Linked DNA regions of Homo sapiens: regions 1, 2 and 3 are each linked to region 4. The links are contacts of gene promoters, found by promoter capture Hi-C in human tissues and cell types (Jung and others, 2019). All regions are on one chromosome and are shown on one strand. Each heading gives the region's core, a stretch centred on a gene start or on the middle of the fragment in contact. The rest is flanking DNA. Distances are from core to core; before and after follow the strand shown.

Region 1 (2,862 bases), core at 75-2,574, 170 kb after region 4:
GGCTTAGCATTTTTTGCATATTTCTAAACCATATACAGGATATATACACATGCGTGTGTGCCACGAACCGTTTATGTCCTCCTGCAACTTCGTGTTCTTGTGATTTATCCATTCCTAAACATAGAACTGTTACTTCTTTTTTAATTGCTGTACAGCAGAGGTCCCCAAACCCCAGCACAGGTGCACAGCCTGTTAGGAAACTGCGTCACACGGCAGGAGGGGAGCAGCAGGCGGGTGAGCAAGTGAAGCTTCATCTGTATTGACAGCCGCTCCCCATCACTCGCATTACTGCTTGAGCTCCGCCTCCTGTCCGATCAGCGCCGGCACTAGATACTCATAGCTATGTGAACCCTATTGTGAACTGAGCATATGAGGGATCTAGGCTGCATGCTCCCTATGAGAATCTAATGCCTGATGATCCATCAGTGTTTCCCATCATCCCCAGATGGAACCGTCTAGTTGCAGGAAAACAAGTGCAGGGCTCCACTGATTCTACATTATGCTGAGTTGTATAATTATTTCATTATATCTTACAACGTAATAATAATAGAAATAAAGTGCACAATAAATGTGATGCACTTGAATCATCCCAAACCATCCCCCACCCCCAGTCCATGAAAAAATGGTCTTCCAGGAAACGGGTCCCTAGTGCCAGAAAGGTTGGGGACCGCTGCCGTACAGTATTCCATTTCACCAACATACTACCGTCTATCAATTCTTCTGTTCACGACCATTTAGGTTGTTTCCAATTTGTGATTACAAACAAAGCTGGAATGAATTCTGTATGTATGTGCTCTAGTCTCTAGAATATACATTATGAGAAGCGGCATTCTCAAGTTCTGGCTTATGCTCATCTCCGCCTTTGTTAGATATTGCCTCATTGTTCATCACCATCAATATTTCTGTTTATCAAGCAAGGGACGAGGGCAAGCAGCAAAAATAACACATGGTACAGGTATGTTTCAACCTGCAGGTGTGAGGGGATGCATATAGTGCCCAAGATTCTCACCATTTCATGGGGAAGAGTGCTTAGGCTAGGCATAGCTGGACACATCATGTGTTCTGTACAAGAGAGGGAATATAAAATTCCTTGTTGTCTCACGCATTTATAAAGTATTATGGAGGGCAGGCGCCGTGGCTCACGCCTGTAATCCCAACACTTTGGGAGGCTGAGGCAGGTGGATCACCTGAAGTCAGGAGTTCAAGACCAGTCTGGCCAACATGGTGAAACCCCGTCTCTACTAAAAATACAAAAATTATTCATGCGTGGTGGTGGGCACCTGTAATCCCAGCCACTCGGGAGGCTGAGGCAGGAGAACTGCTTGTACCTGGGAGGCAGAGCTCGCAGTGAGCCGAGATCACACCAATGCACTCCAGCCTGGGCAACAGAGCAAGACTCTGTCTCCAAAAAAAAAAAAAAGAATTATGGAGGAATCAGAGATCATCTGACCAAGGTGTCTTTGCAATTCAGGTTTCAGCCTTTCTGGCCTAAGAAATAATGTTAGAAACAACCCAATAATCCAGACAGTTTATACATGAGGGGGTTTGTGGCCCTCCCTGAAGAGCCAGCTTATTGCTAGGTTACCTGAAAAAAGACTCACAAGGGTCATCCACTTAACAAACTTGTTTATCCCTCTGCATTACACCTCTGGCCCTGGCGATTTATTAAACAGGCTTTCCGACCCAGGGCTTGTATTAGTTGACAACATCGTGACAAGTTTGCATCATGGGCCATGAAAGGCATAAAAGGTATTTTGAGGCTTCTGTCCATATCTGTAAAACAAAAGGAGAAATAGTCTTTAAAACATTTTTAATATAGGTTTTTAATCTATCTAGAATTTATTTTTGTTATGGAGAAAGTAGAAATTTCATTATTAAATACATACTGTTAATATTGTATCCTGCTCCTATTTATTGAATAGCTTATGCTTCCATTGATTTACAGTGCCTCCTCTGTCACATATCAAGTTTCCATATGTACATATACATGGGCCAGCTCCTGGACTGTCTGATTCTTTTGGCCTCTTTGTCTACACATAGGCTAGTACTATACACTCTTAGTTGTTCTCACTTTATAATCAATCTTAGGGTTTTTGTTTTGTTTTAGAGTCACGGTCTTGGTCTGTCACCCAGGCTGTGGTACAGTGGCATGGCCATAGCTCACTGTACCCTTGAACTCTTGGGCTCAAGAAATCCTCCCATCTCAGCCTCCCTAGTAGCTGGGACTTCAGGTGTGCACCATGACACCTGGTCAATCCTTTTTATAGATCTTTTATAATGTTTTAAATAAGCTTTTTTCTAGGGCTGGAGTCTCACTATGTTGCCAAGGCTGAGCTCGTATTCCAGATCTCAAGTGATCTTCCTGGGATCGTAGGCTGGGATTACAGGCATGAGCCCTGTGATCACGGCTCACCGCAGCCTCTGTCTCCTGGGCCCAACTCCTGATCTTGAACTCCTTGGCTCAAGTGATCCTCCCACCTCAGCCTCCCAAGTAGCTGGGACTACATGCACACACCACTATGCTGGCTAATTTTTTTGCATTTTTTTGTACAGACAGGGTTTCACCACATTGCCCAGGGTGGTCTTGAACTCCTGGGCTCACGCAATCCGCCTGCCTTGGCCTCCCAAAGTGCTGGGATTACAAGCATAAGCCAGGGTGCCCAGCCCCAGTCTTCATTTTGAAAGAGCAATTCCCTCAAACTTTTGGTTTTAAAAAATTGTTTTGGTTATTCTTGGCCCTTTACTCTTCTATATAGATTTTAGAACGTACCTTGTGAAGTCACCTGGAAGTTCTGTTGGGATTTTTATTGAAAATTGAAAATATAAATCAATATGCATGTTGAATCAATAGACTTGGGAAGA
Region 2 (3,098 bases), core at 158-2,657, 160 kb before region 4:
TACAGGCATGCGCCACCACGCCCGGCTAATTTTGTATTTTTAGTAAAGACAGGGTTTCACCAGGCTGGTCTCAAACTCCTGACCTCAGGTGATCCTCCCACCTCAGCCTCCCAAAGTGTGGGATTACAGGTATGAGTCACCGCACCTGGCCATATTTCAATAGTTTCAGCCTAATACACATGCAACTTCCATATTTTCCTAACACTTCTTTTTCTAAACCCAATGTAAAGCTTCTACAACTGAGCTGTGAGTCATAATCCAGTAAAAAGGCAGCAGATTTCCAGTGACTGTGAAAATACACTTACTATTCCTTCTTTTCATTATTTCAGAAGACATGTAACACTGATATCATCAATGTCATATCGGTTTCTACCCTCCCCCTGCCAGGTTAATCTCCACTTACCACTGCACAGCGCTGCACTTTGGAAGGAACCCCATCTTCTTCTGTTGCCCCGTTGGGTCCGGGCGCCTCTTTTCTCCTCTTCCTTGCATTGACCTTGGCTGAACACTGTGCATCCATCTTCTTTTAACTGGTCATAGAAAGTGAAAACAAAAATTTTCTCATTGGGGTGGGAAAAAGTTTGTCACCAGTATTTCAGAGACGTTGACGTGGATACACTCAGCAAAATACCAATTCTACAGCTGCACTTCACCAAGATGAGCCAATGGCATCTGGCAAAACCAGCGAAGCTTCACAAAACACAGGCTCTAGTAGAAATACTGAAACGCCTCTCTGTGCAACAATGGCCACAGTGAATTGCCTGAAGTCGGAAGTCATTCCCCCTCACAGTGCAGCCTACATACTAACTGCTCATTTTAAATCCTGATTGCATGCAAAAGATTGGAATAATTTGGCTGAGAAAGATAGTTACACAGACTCTCCCACTATCCTCCGCATCATCGATATGACAGGTATAAGGCAATGTGAAGGTATGACTGGTGCAGGTAGAGAAAAGAGCCTTTTGTAAACGGATGGCTCTCACCAAGTCCTGGATTAACAAAACACGGATTTCTTAACTCTAATTTTTTTTAAGACGGGGTCTCACTCTGTTGCCCAGGCTGGGGTGCAGTGGTATGATCTTGCCTCACTGCAGCTTCAACCTCGTTAGCTCAAGCGATCCTCTTGCCCCAGCCTCCCAAGTAGTTGGGACTACAGGCACATGCCACCACACCTAGTTATTTTTTTTTTTAAGAGACAGGCCTCGCTATGTTGCCCAGGCTGGTCTTGAATTCCTGGCCTCAAGTGATCCTCCCAACTCAAACTCCCAAAGACTTGGGATGACAGGCATGAACCACATCACTGAGTGAATTTCTTAACTCTAAAAGTTCTATAGATTTCAGTGACCACTTCACCAGAGTTACTTGCATGAAAATTGTGGAGTAGCATAATGGTTTTTATTTACTTTTTTATTGTTTTTATTTTTTTAGGGGTCTTGCTAGGTTGTCCAGGCTGGAGCGCAGTGGCTACTCACAGCCATAATCATAGCACACTGTAGCCTCAAACTCCTGAGCTTAAGCAATCCTCCCATCTGAGCCTCCAGAATAGCTAGGACCAGCATAATGTATTTTTTAAATGTCCTTCTCCTTCTTTCCTTTTTTTTTTTTTGAGAAAGAGTCTCACTGTGTCACCCTGGCTAGAGTGCAGTGGCACGATCTCGGCTCTCACAGCCATAATCATAGCACACTGTAGCCTCAAACTCCTGAGCTTAAGCAATCCTCCCATCTGAGCCTCCAGAATAGCTAGGACCAGCATAATGTATTTTTTAAATGTCCTTCTCCTTCTTTCCTTTTTTTTTTTTTTGAGAAAGAGTCTCACTCTGTCACCCTGGCTAGAGTGCAGTGGCACGATCTCGGCTCTCACAGCCATAATCATAGCACACTGTAGCCTCAAACTCCTGAGCTTAAGCAATCCTCCCATCTGAGCCTCCAGAATAGCTAGGACCAGCATAATGTATTTTTTAAATGTCCTTCTCCTTCTTTCCTTTTTTTTTTTTTTGAGAAAGAGTCTCACTCTGTCACCCTGGCTAGAGTGCAGTGGCACGATCTCGGCTCTCACAGCCATAATCATAGCACACTGTAGCCTCAAACTCCTGAGCTTAAGCAATCCTCCCATCTGAGCCTCCAGAATAGCTAGGACCAGCATAATGTATTTTTTAAATGTCCTTCTCCTTCTTTCCTTTTTTTTTTTTTTGAGAAAGAGTCTCACTCCGTCACCCTGGCTAGAGTGCAGTGGCACCATCTCGGCTCACTACAACCTCCGCCTCCCAGGTTCAAGCGATTCTCCTGCCTCAGCCTCCTGAGTAGGTGGGATTACAGGCACCCACCACCACGCCTGGCTAATTTTTTGTATTTTTAGTAGAGACAGGGTTTCCCTATGTTGGCCAGGCTGGTCTCGAACACCTGACCTCGTGATCCACCTGCCTCGTCCTCCAAAAGTGCTGAAATTACAGGCGTGAGCCATGGCGCCTAGCCAATTTTTGTATTTTTAGTAGAGACAGGGTTTTGTCATGTTGGCCAGGCTGGTCTTGAACTCCTGACCTCAGGTGATCCACCCACCTCGACCTCCCAAAGTGCTGGAATTACAGGTGTGAACCACTGCACCTGGCCCTTCCCCTTCTTTTCTCAGTACTCATTTCCCTTTCCTCTTTCAGGGTCTTAACACCTCAAGCTTGTTCACAGTTTCCAGCTATTAAAACCCCCTCAGGGATTCTCCTTCCCCCAAAGGAACTTATTTATTATTGTCTCATTTAGCAGAGAGTTTCTAGCAACTAGCTATTACAGCAAAGTTCTGAATATTCTGTATTTCATGTTTAAGTCACAGAATACTTGGGGTGTCACTTCGCTAGCCAGAAACCTCTGTGGCCAGTGGCACCTTTGCCTGAGTTTTGCTCAGGCCCGCCGGGCTCGTTCCGTCCACTCAGCCTGGTAGGCTATGCTCAGCTTGTGTTACCAGCACAGATTCCATGCATGCCAAGGACAAGCCAGGCACGGAGCGGCAAGAGGTGCACAGGCGAGCCAGCACAGGGTCCGGCCACTGCGCACAGCCAGGCACGCCAGCTGCCAGGGGGTGAGCAGCTCGAGGCGCCAGCTCCCTGAGA
Region 3 (3,217 bases), core at 50-2,549, 130 kb after region 4:
TCAGGTTATGCCTCTTATCTGAATAATGTTTTAGATGGTGAGCTCTGCAGCTAGGCTCTCCAGGTTTGCAGTAGCTAGGGGACTGGGCAAATTACTGAACCTGTCACCCACTTTTCTTCTCTATAAAATGAGGATAATAATGACACTCATTTCATAGGATCATAATATATGTAAATCACACATAATAGTGCCTGATACATAATGAATCCTCAACAAGCATTGCTATTGTTACTTTTTCGATTTTTATTAGGCCGGTGCAAAGCGGCATTACATACACTGCACCAGTACTCTCAAAGTGTGGTCTCCACACTAGCAGCATCAGCATCCCCTAGGAACTTGTCAGAAATGCAAATTGTCAGACCCAACCCTAGATCTACTGAATCTGAAAATGGGGGTGAGACCAAGCAGTGTGTTTTTGTTGTTGTTGTTTTGTTTTGTTTTCTGAGATGGAGTCTCGCTGCCGTTAGCCCGGGCTGGACTGCAATGGATGATCTCGGCTCACTGCAACCTCCGCCTCCCGGGTTCCAGCAATTTTCCTGCCTCAGCCTCCCGAGTAGCTGAGATAACAGGCACCCGGCACCATGCCTGGCTAATTTTTGTATTTTTAGTAGAGACGGGGTTTCACCATGTTGGCCAGGCTGGTCTCAAACTCCTGACCTCAGGTGATCCACCCACCTTGGCCTCCCAAAGTGCTGGGATTATAAGCGTGAGCCACCACGCCCGGCTGCAATGTGTTTTAGTAAGTCCTCCAGGTGATCCTGATGTACAGTGGAATTGCAGAATCTGTATTAAACTAATGACCACCTGGGGAAATGGTGAAAATGGCAGGCCCTTGGTCTCCCCACCAGACACTTATTCAGTAGGTTATCTAATTTTATCTCAAAACAACCCTTTTGATTGGTATTATTCCATTTTAGGGATAATAAAACCGAGTCTCAGAAATGTTAAATAATTTTCCCAAGGTCACTTGACTCTTAGGATTTGTAACAGATCCCAAATGTTTTGTTTTTGTTTTGAGACAGGGTTTTGCTCTGTCACCCAGGCTGCAGTGCAGTGGCACAATCGTGGCTCACTGCAGCCTTGACCTCCCAGGCCTAAGCAATCCTCCCACCTCAGTCTCCTGAGTAGCTCAGACCACTTATGTGCACCACCATGCCTGGCTAATTTTTATTTTATTAAATTTTTTTTTGCAAAGTCGGGGTCTCCCTATGTTGCCCAGGCTCCAAATATTTAAATAATGAAGGTCCTTTTCTAACAACTCCACCTGACAACAGTTTTGTTATTATTCTTTGAAGAAACAGAAAATGACCAAAAGTTACTAGTAAGTCATCAGTGCTTGAAAATGTACTCACATATGTTTAATCATATTATCATCTACCTGCACTTACACAACAGTGTAAAATTTAGATTTCTCATCCTCTAGGAATCCCAGATATACACACACTGGAAATGCCACATAATACCGGCCTGCCGTGCCCGCCTGCTGGTCAAGGCAAAAAGGAAATCAGGGCAATTTATACAACTCTAATCTTGGTCAAGACAAAAGGAAGCAAATAAATCTACCTGGACAAATTTAATTTTTCATTTCATAAGCGAAAGGAGAGCTTACCCGAGTGCCAGCCCCCAGAGCTGTTGTGCTATTTTCAGATAAGATACTTGAATTTAGCCCAGTGGTACAGAGATAAAATCATTTAAAATAATCTGGCAATCTGCCCAAAGTTTCCATTCCCAACACAAAGCTTTTTTTTTTTTTTGAGACGGAGTCTTGCTCTGTCGCCCAGGTTGGAGTGCAATGGCACAATCTCAGCTCTCTGCAACCTCTGCCTCCTATGTTTAAGCGATTCTCCTGCCTCAGCCTCCCAAGTAGCTGAGATTATAGACGCCTGCCACCACGCCAGGCTAACTTTTCCATTTTTAGTAGAGACAGGGTTTCACCATGTTGGCCAGGCTGGTCTTGAACTTCTGACCTTACATGATCCACCCACTTCAGCCTCCCAAAGTGCTGGGATTATAGGCGTGCGTCACCGCACCCAGCCTCCCCCTACTTTTAGTCACACATACGATCACTAATTAGACTGCAAAAAAATCACTGATCTATTAGTAATCAAGGTAACGGAAACGTGATCACAAAATCAAATACAGAAATGTTCATAAAAATAACAAAATAAAAAACAAAATTAAACTTTTGTTTTCAAGCAGAAGCACTCAACTAATATACAGAGGAAACTAACTGGAGACTGAAGCAATAATATTTAAAGGAGAGAATTGGAGAGGAAATGACTCAGAGGGAGGTAAAAACAGGGAGCCCTGGTGGTTTGATTTTTGCTGACAAGTACTGAAACAGCAGCAGGTAAATATGCCGTAACGAAGACTGTTGCCAAAAGTTCCAGATAAACCTAGATTTTAAACGAAAGGCACTGATAGTATTTAGGCTTAGGAACTGTAATACTGACTTACCTCATGATAAAGATGCTATCCTACAAATTTGAATTGAGTATTGAAAAGTCAATTTAAGTTACAAATAATTTTGTTTAACGATTTCAATTTTTTTTCTTTTTTCTTTTTTTTTTTTTTTTGAGACAGGGTCTTGCTCTGTCATGCAGGCCTTGACCTCCCCAGGCTCAAGTGATCCTCCCGCCTTAGCCTCCTGAGTAGCTGGAACTACAGGCTCTCACCACCAAACCCACCTAATTTTTTGTATTTTTTTTGTAGAGATGAGGTTTCCCCACATTCCCCAGGCTGTTCTTGAACTCCTGGGCTCAAGTGATCCTCCCGTCTCAGCCTCTCAAAGTGCTGGCATCACAGGCATGAGCCACTGCACCCAGCCAATGCTTTCAAATCTTTAGAATGTCGATCACTTTTTTGCCAAGTTATAGTTTTAATTTTGCTATGATGAATCAACTTTGAAGTCAGGAAGTCTGTACTCTAGAGCATTAAGATTTGCTGATATTTGTGTGCATACAGGTTTTGGATCCCAGCTGGGATTTTAGGTTTTCTCTGAAACAAGAATGAGGCAAGGTTTCTAGTGCTCCTGTTTCTCCATTACAAATCTACCCACAGGAGAGCCAAATAAATGCTGACTGACAGACAAAAGTTTTAGCAGGTTTTCTTCCTAATTTAATTCTTTTCTAGAAAAGATTAACTCAATCTTCAAGGTTCATTCAGTTAAGTTTTGCTCCGAAGTGTGAGAAGACAGGCAATAAACGAATTTTGTCCT
Region 4 (2,971 bases), core at 416-2,915:
TGCAAAGATTTTTCTATATAAGCATAATGCAGCAACACTAACTTATATACACAATAATCTTCTCCATAGCAATGATTTGTCAGACATTAGGAAATCCTTTACATATTTAATATAATAATCCAATCCTTTATATCTTCAATAATCCAATCACAAAGTTCAAAAATATTAAGAGAAGTTATCATGCAACTCCTCACCCCAATTTTATTGCAAATTTTACTTTACTTTGACCTGATGTTCCATGCCCACAAGCTAGATAACAATGCGTCAAATATCTCGTTATCATTGCAAAGCAAAAAAATAAAACTTGCTTTAATATAAAACGGTAACTAGTATACAACCTGTAGTAGTTAAAACAATATAAAATTTTACTTAACCAGATATTGCACGTTAAACTCTAGGAACATTAACAGTGGAAACATTCTCCGCATCTAACAAATTACGAGATAAAGTATAGATCCGTTGAGAGGGAACTAACATTCTGACCTCCTTCCAAAACGACAAACTAGAACGGCAAAATTACACTCAGGCACATTGGAGTACTCTTCTCTCAAATCACTCCACAGAGAACTTCATCATTTGCTCCGCCCTCTAATAACTCATGCAAGAAAAGTTCAGCACCATCAGAGAGAAACAAGACAGAGAGAATTCATAGAATGGCTTTAGGGCCTTTCCTCCAGGCGGTAAGAGGATCTGCGTGTGTCCTTCGCAGGGGTCCAAAGGGAGAGAACCTAGGCCTAGGGTTTCGGGGATACCGACACCCAGAAACAGATTTTCTCTCAAAGAAGTTTCTGCCGCCATCCCTATCTTATCAGCAGGAGGCCCCGGCGCCATCGTCTCCGTCTTTATGATTTTATTATGGGGAGGTGGGAAACGCCACCCTGGATTCTTCCAGGCCTCCCCTATTCAGCTTGGGGGTTCCCCCTCATTCTTCCCTCAAAGCCTCAGTCCCTGAGGTCCTCCTCAGCACCCCCCGCTTCTGGCGGCCTGTCCCCCGTGAAGTGTAAAGGCACGGCCGAACCCACCGGCCTTGCCGTGAAGGCGGGAGGGCCCGAACCCGCCAGGGCCACGGCGATGGCTCCGAGGGGCCCAGAAAGGGGAAGGGCAGGCCGGGGACCGGGGCAGAATGACCTGGCCGGGGAAGAAAGGAAAAAAGGAGGTGAGGAGATGCACCGCACCGCAGGGCTGCACAGAGAAGGGAAGATGATGAAGGAGGAGGAGGAGGGCGGTGGCCCGGGTGCGGCCCCCTACTCCTCCCGCCCCCGGGTCCCCGGGCCGGCGGGGGCGGACGGACTCGGCCCATTCCCAGGTCTGGGCTGGCGGGGGGTTGGGGGATCTCCCTCCACGCTACTAGGAGACAGAGAACGAGGGTATCGGGAGCGGGGGGGGGCTGTCTCCCGCCTGAACCCGGAGACCCCGACGCCGTCGTCGCCTCTTCCTCAGGAGGGAGGACGGCAGCTGTGGGTAAAGCCCGAAGGAGGAATGCCTGAAGGTAAGGGGAAGCCCGGGGCAGACCCGCTGCCCGCTCCGGACCCCACTCTCCACCTTCCGGTAACCGCGTCTCTTACCGGTAATGGTGGTGAACTGTTGAATTAACCCCTTCAGCGCCGAGGACGCCGCGGAGCCCCCGTGGGCAGCCATCTTACCGCCGCCGCCGCCGCCGAACAACAACACAGACACACACGGACTGCCCTCCCCCACTTCGCCGTGCGGTGTGCGCAGGCGCATTGACCGCCCCTCGAGCCCCGCCCCTCCCGTCCCCAGCGGTCTGCGCAGGCGCATTTTCCGACCGGGCCCGCGCGCTCCCAGCTCTCGGGTTGGCTGCTCGGTTGCTGCCTGCTCAGTGCATCCTTTTTGCCATTGCTGGTGCCTTCCTCTCCGGGCTCCAAGGCTAGCCTCGCAGGCGCGGTGTCGATTCCTAGATTCCGAAGGAAGCTTCGGTCTCGGCAGATAGTTCTTCGCATTTCAGCTTCGCAAGCTTTATTGACAGAGCCAACTGCCGATGACAGCATTTTTCTGTTTTGCGGTTGTACCGCACTCTATTAGGTTTCCTGCAGGTCCCATCAAAATGCAAACCCTACCTCCTCGCTTTGAAGCGACTCTCCCCGTACTCGCCCCCCAGCCTCTAAACTAATGGCTTAGCTAACCGATTGCGACGAGTGAAATACCAGAACCCTTCATGCCAAAGAAAGCACTTAGCGCGGGGTTGCCACCCAGTAGGTTTTCATAAACGATTGTTTAGTCTGCTTTCCTTAAATAAATTGGCCATCACGTCTCCCGTTAGGGTCTTAATGAGACCCCAAGAGGCGTCATTTGTATAAAAAGAAACTCTGTATATGCAGTAGAGGAAAGAAAACATATAGAAAGGAGACTGGAAAAGTGTGCTCAAAACGCTGGTAACGGTTACCTCCAGAGAAGAGAACGATCGGGACGATGGTCAAAGCGGACCTTACTTCGAGTTTCTTATTTATCTTTTTATTTTTAAACAAACATTATTGGCCGGGCGCGGTGGCTCATGACTGTAATCCCAGCACTTTGGAAGGCCGAGGTGGGAGAATCGCTTGAGGCAAGGAGTTCGAGACCAGACTGGGAAATATATCAAGAATCCATCTCAAAAAAAAAAAAAAAAAAAAGATATTCGTGTGTTCCTTGAATAATTTTAAGTATTTTGCAAAACAGTTACATGAGTGGGGTGCGCTCAAATCCAATAATCCCCCACCTTGCCCATAAAGTTAAAAGAGATTCCAAGTGATTCCGTTTGTTTTAGCCTCCCACCTTCCAACCTCCACCCACATATTTTGCATCTTCATAGGAAAATGGCCCAATAAAAGATGGGATGAGCTGTCTGAAGAATTGACACATCCTAAGAGTAAACATGCTATTGGGGAGAATTAAGAAAGAGCCATGTCAAATCAAGGGGTATAGTTTTTTGTTTTGTTTTGTTTGACAGGGAGTCTCGCTCTGTCGCCCAGGC

Evidence for each region. The method cuts DNA at HindIII sites, captures the fragments that hold promoters and counts their contacts. A contact is called where the count stands out against the background at its distance.
Region 1: a contact is called between a fragment that was not itself captured here and the fragment with the promoter of UBXN7 in region 4, in 1 of the 25 tissues and cell types used here (aorta).
Region 2: a contact is called between a fragment that was not itself captured here and the fragment with the promoter of UBXN7 in region 4, in 8 of the 25 tissues and cell types used here (H1 embryonic stem cells, IMR-90 fibroblasts, bladder and 5 more).
Region 3: a contact is called between a fragment that was not itself captured here and the fragment with the promoter of UBXN7 in region 4, in 1 of the 25 tissues and cell types used here (IMR-90 fibroblasts).

Annotation. Positions count from the first base shown.
Region 1 is chr3:196,604,523-196,607,384 of GRCh38, forward strand. No RefSeq gene overlaps it. Among named protein-coding and RNA genes, the nearest start is that of LINC01063, 27 kb to the right of the region's middle. The HindIII fragment of the contact is 4,213 bases long and covers 1-2,862 here.
Region 2 is chr3:196,270,012-196,273,109 of GRCh38, forward strand. It overlaps PCYT1A (phosphate cytidylyltransferase 1A, choline), which reads right to left. Exons shown (of 9, transcript NM_001312673.2): 2 at 404-530. The coding sequence starts at 520. Among named protein-coding and RNA genes, the nearest start is that of PCYT1A, 16 kb to the right of the region's middle. RefSeq lists an enhancer at 3,073-3,098. The HindIII fragment of the contact is 3,023 bases long and covers 1-2,919 here.
Region 3 is chr3:196,561,836-196,565,052 of GRCh38, forward strand. The region is part of intron 2 of WDR53 (WD repeat domain 53); the gene reads right to left. Among named protein-coding and RNA genes, the nearest start is that of WDR53, 5.1 kb to the right of the region's middle. RefSeq lists an enhancer at 1,291-2,490. The HindIII fragment of the contact is 7,147 bases long and covers 1-3,217 here.
Region 4 is chr3:196,430,762-196,433,732 of GRCh38, forward strand. It overlaps UBXN7 (UBX domain protein 7), which reads right to left and starts at 1,666. Exons shown (of 11, transcript NM_015562.2): 1 at 1,566-1,666. The coding sequence starts at 1,638. UBXN7-AS1 (UBXN7 antisense RNA 1) reads left to right here and starts at 624. Exons shown (of 2, transcript NR_046745.1): 1 at 624-680; 2 at 1,441-2,273. RefSeq lists enhancers at 423-1,197, 774-823, 1,198-1,971, 1,904-1,983 and silencers at 1,534-1,593, 1,614-1,863. The HindIII fragment of the contact is 10,299 bases long and covers 1-2,971 here.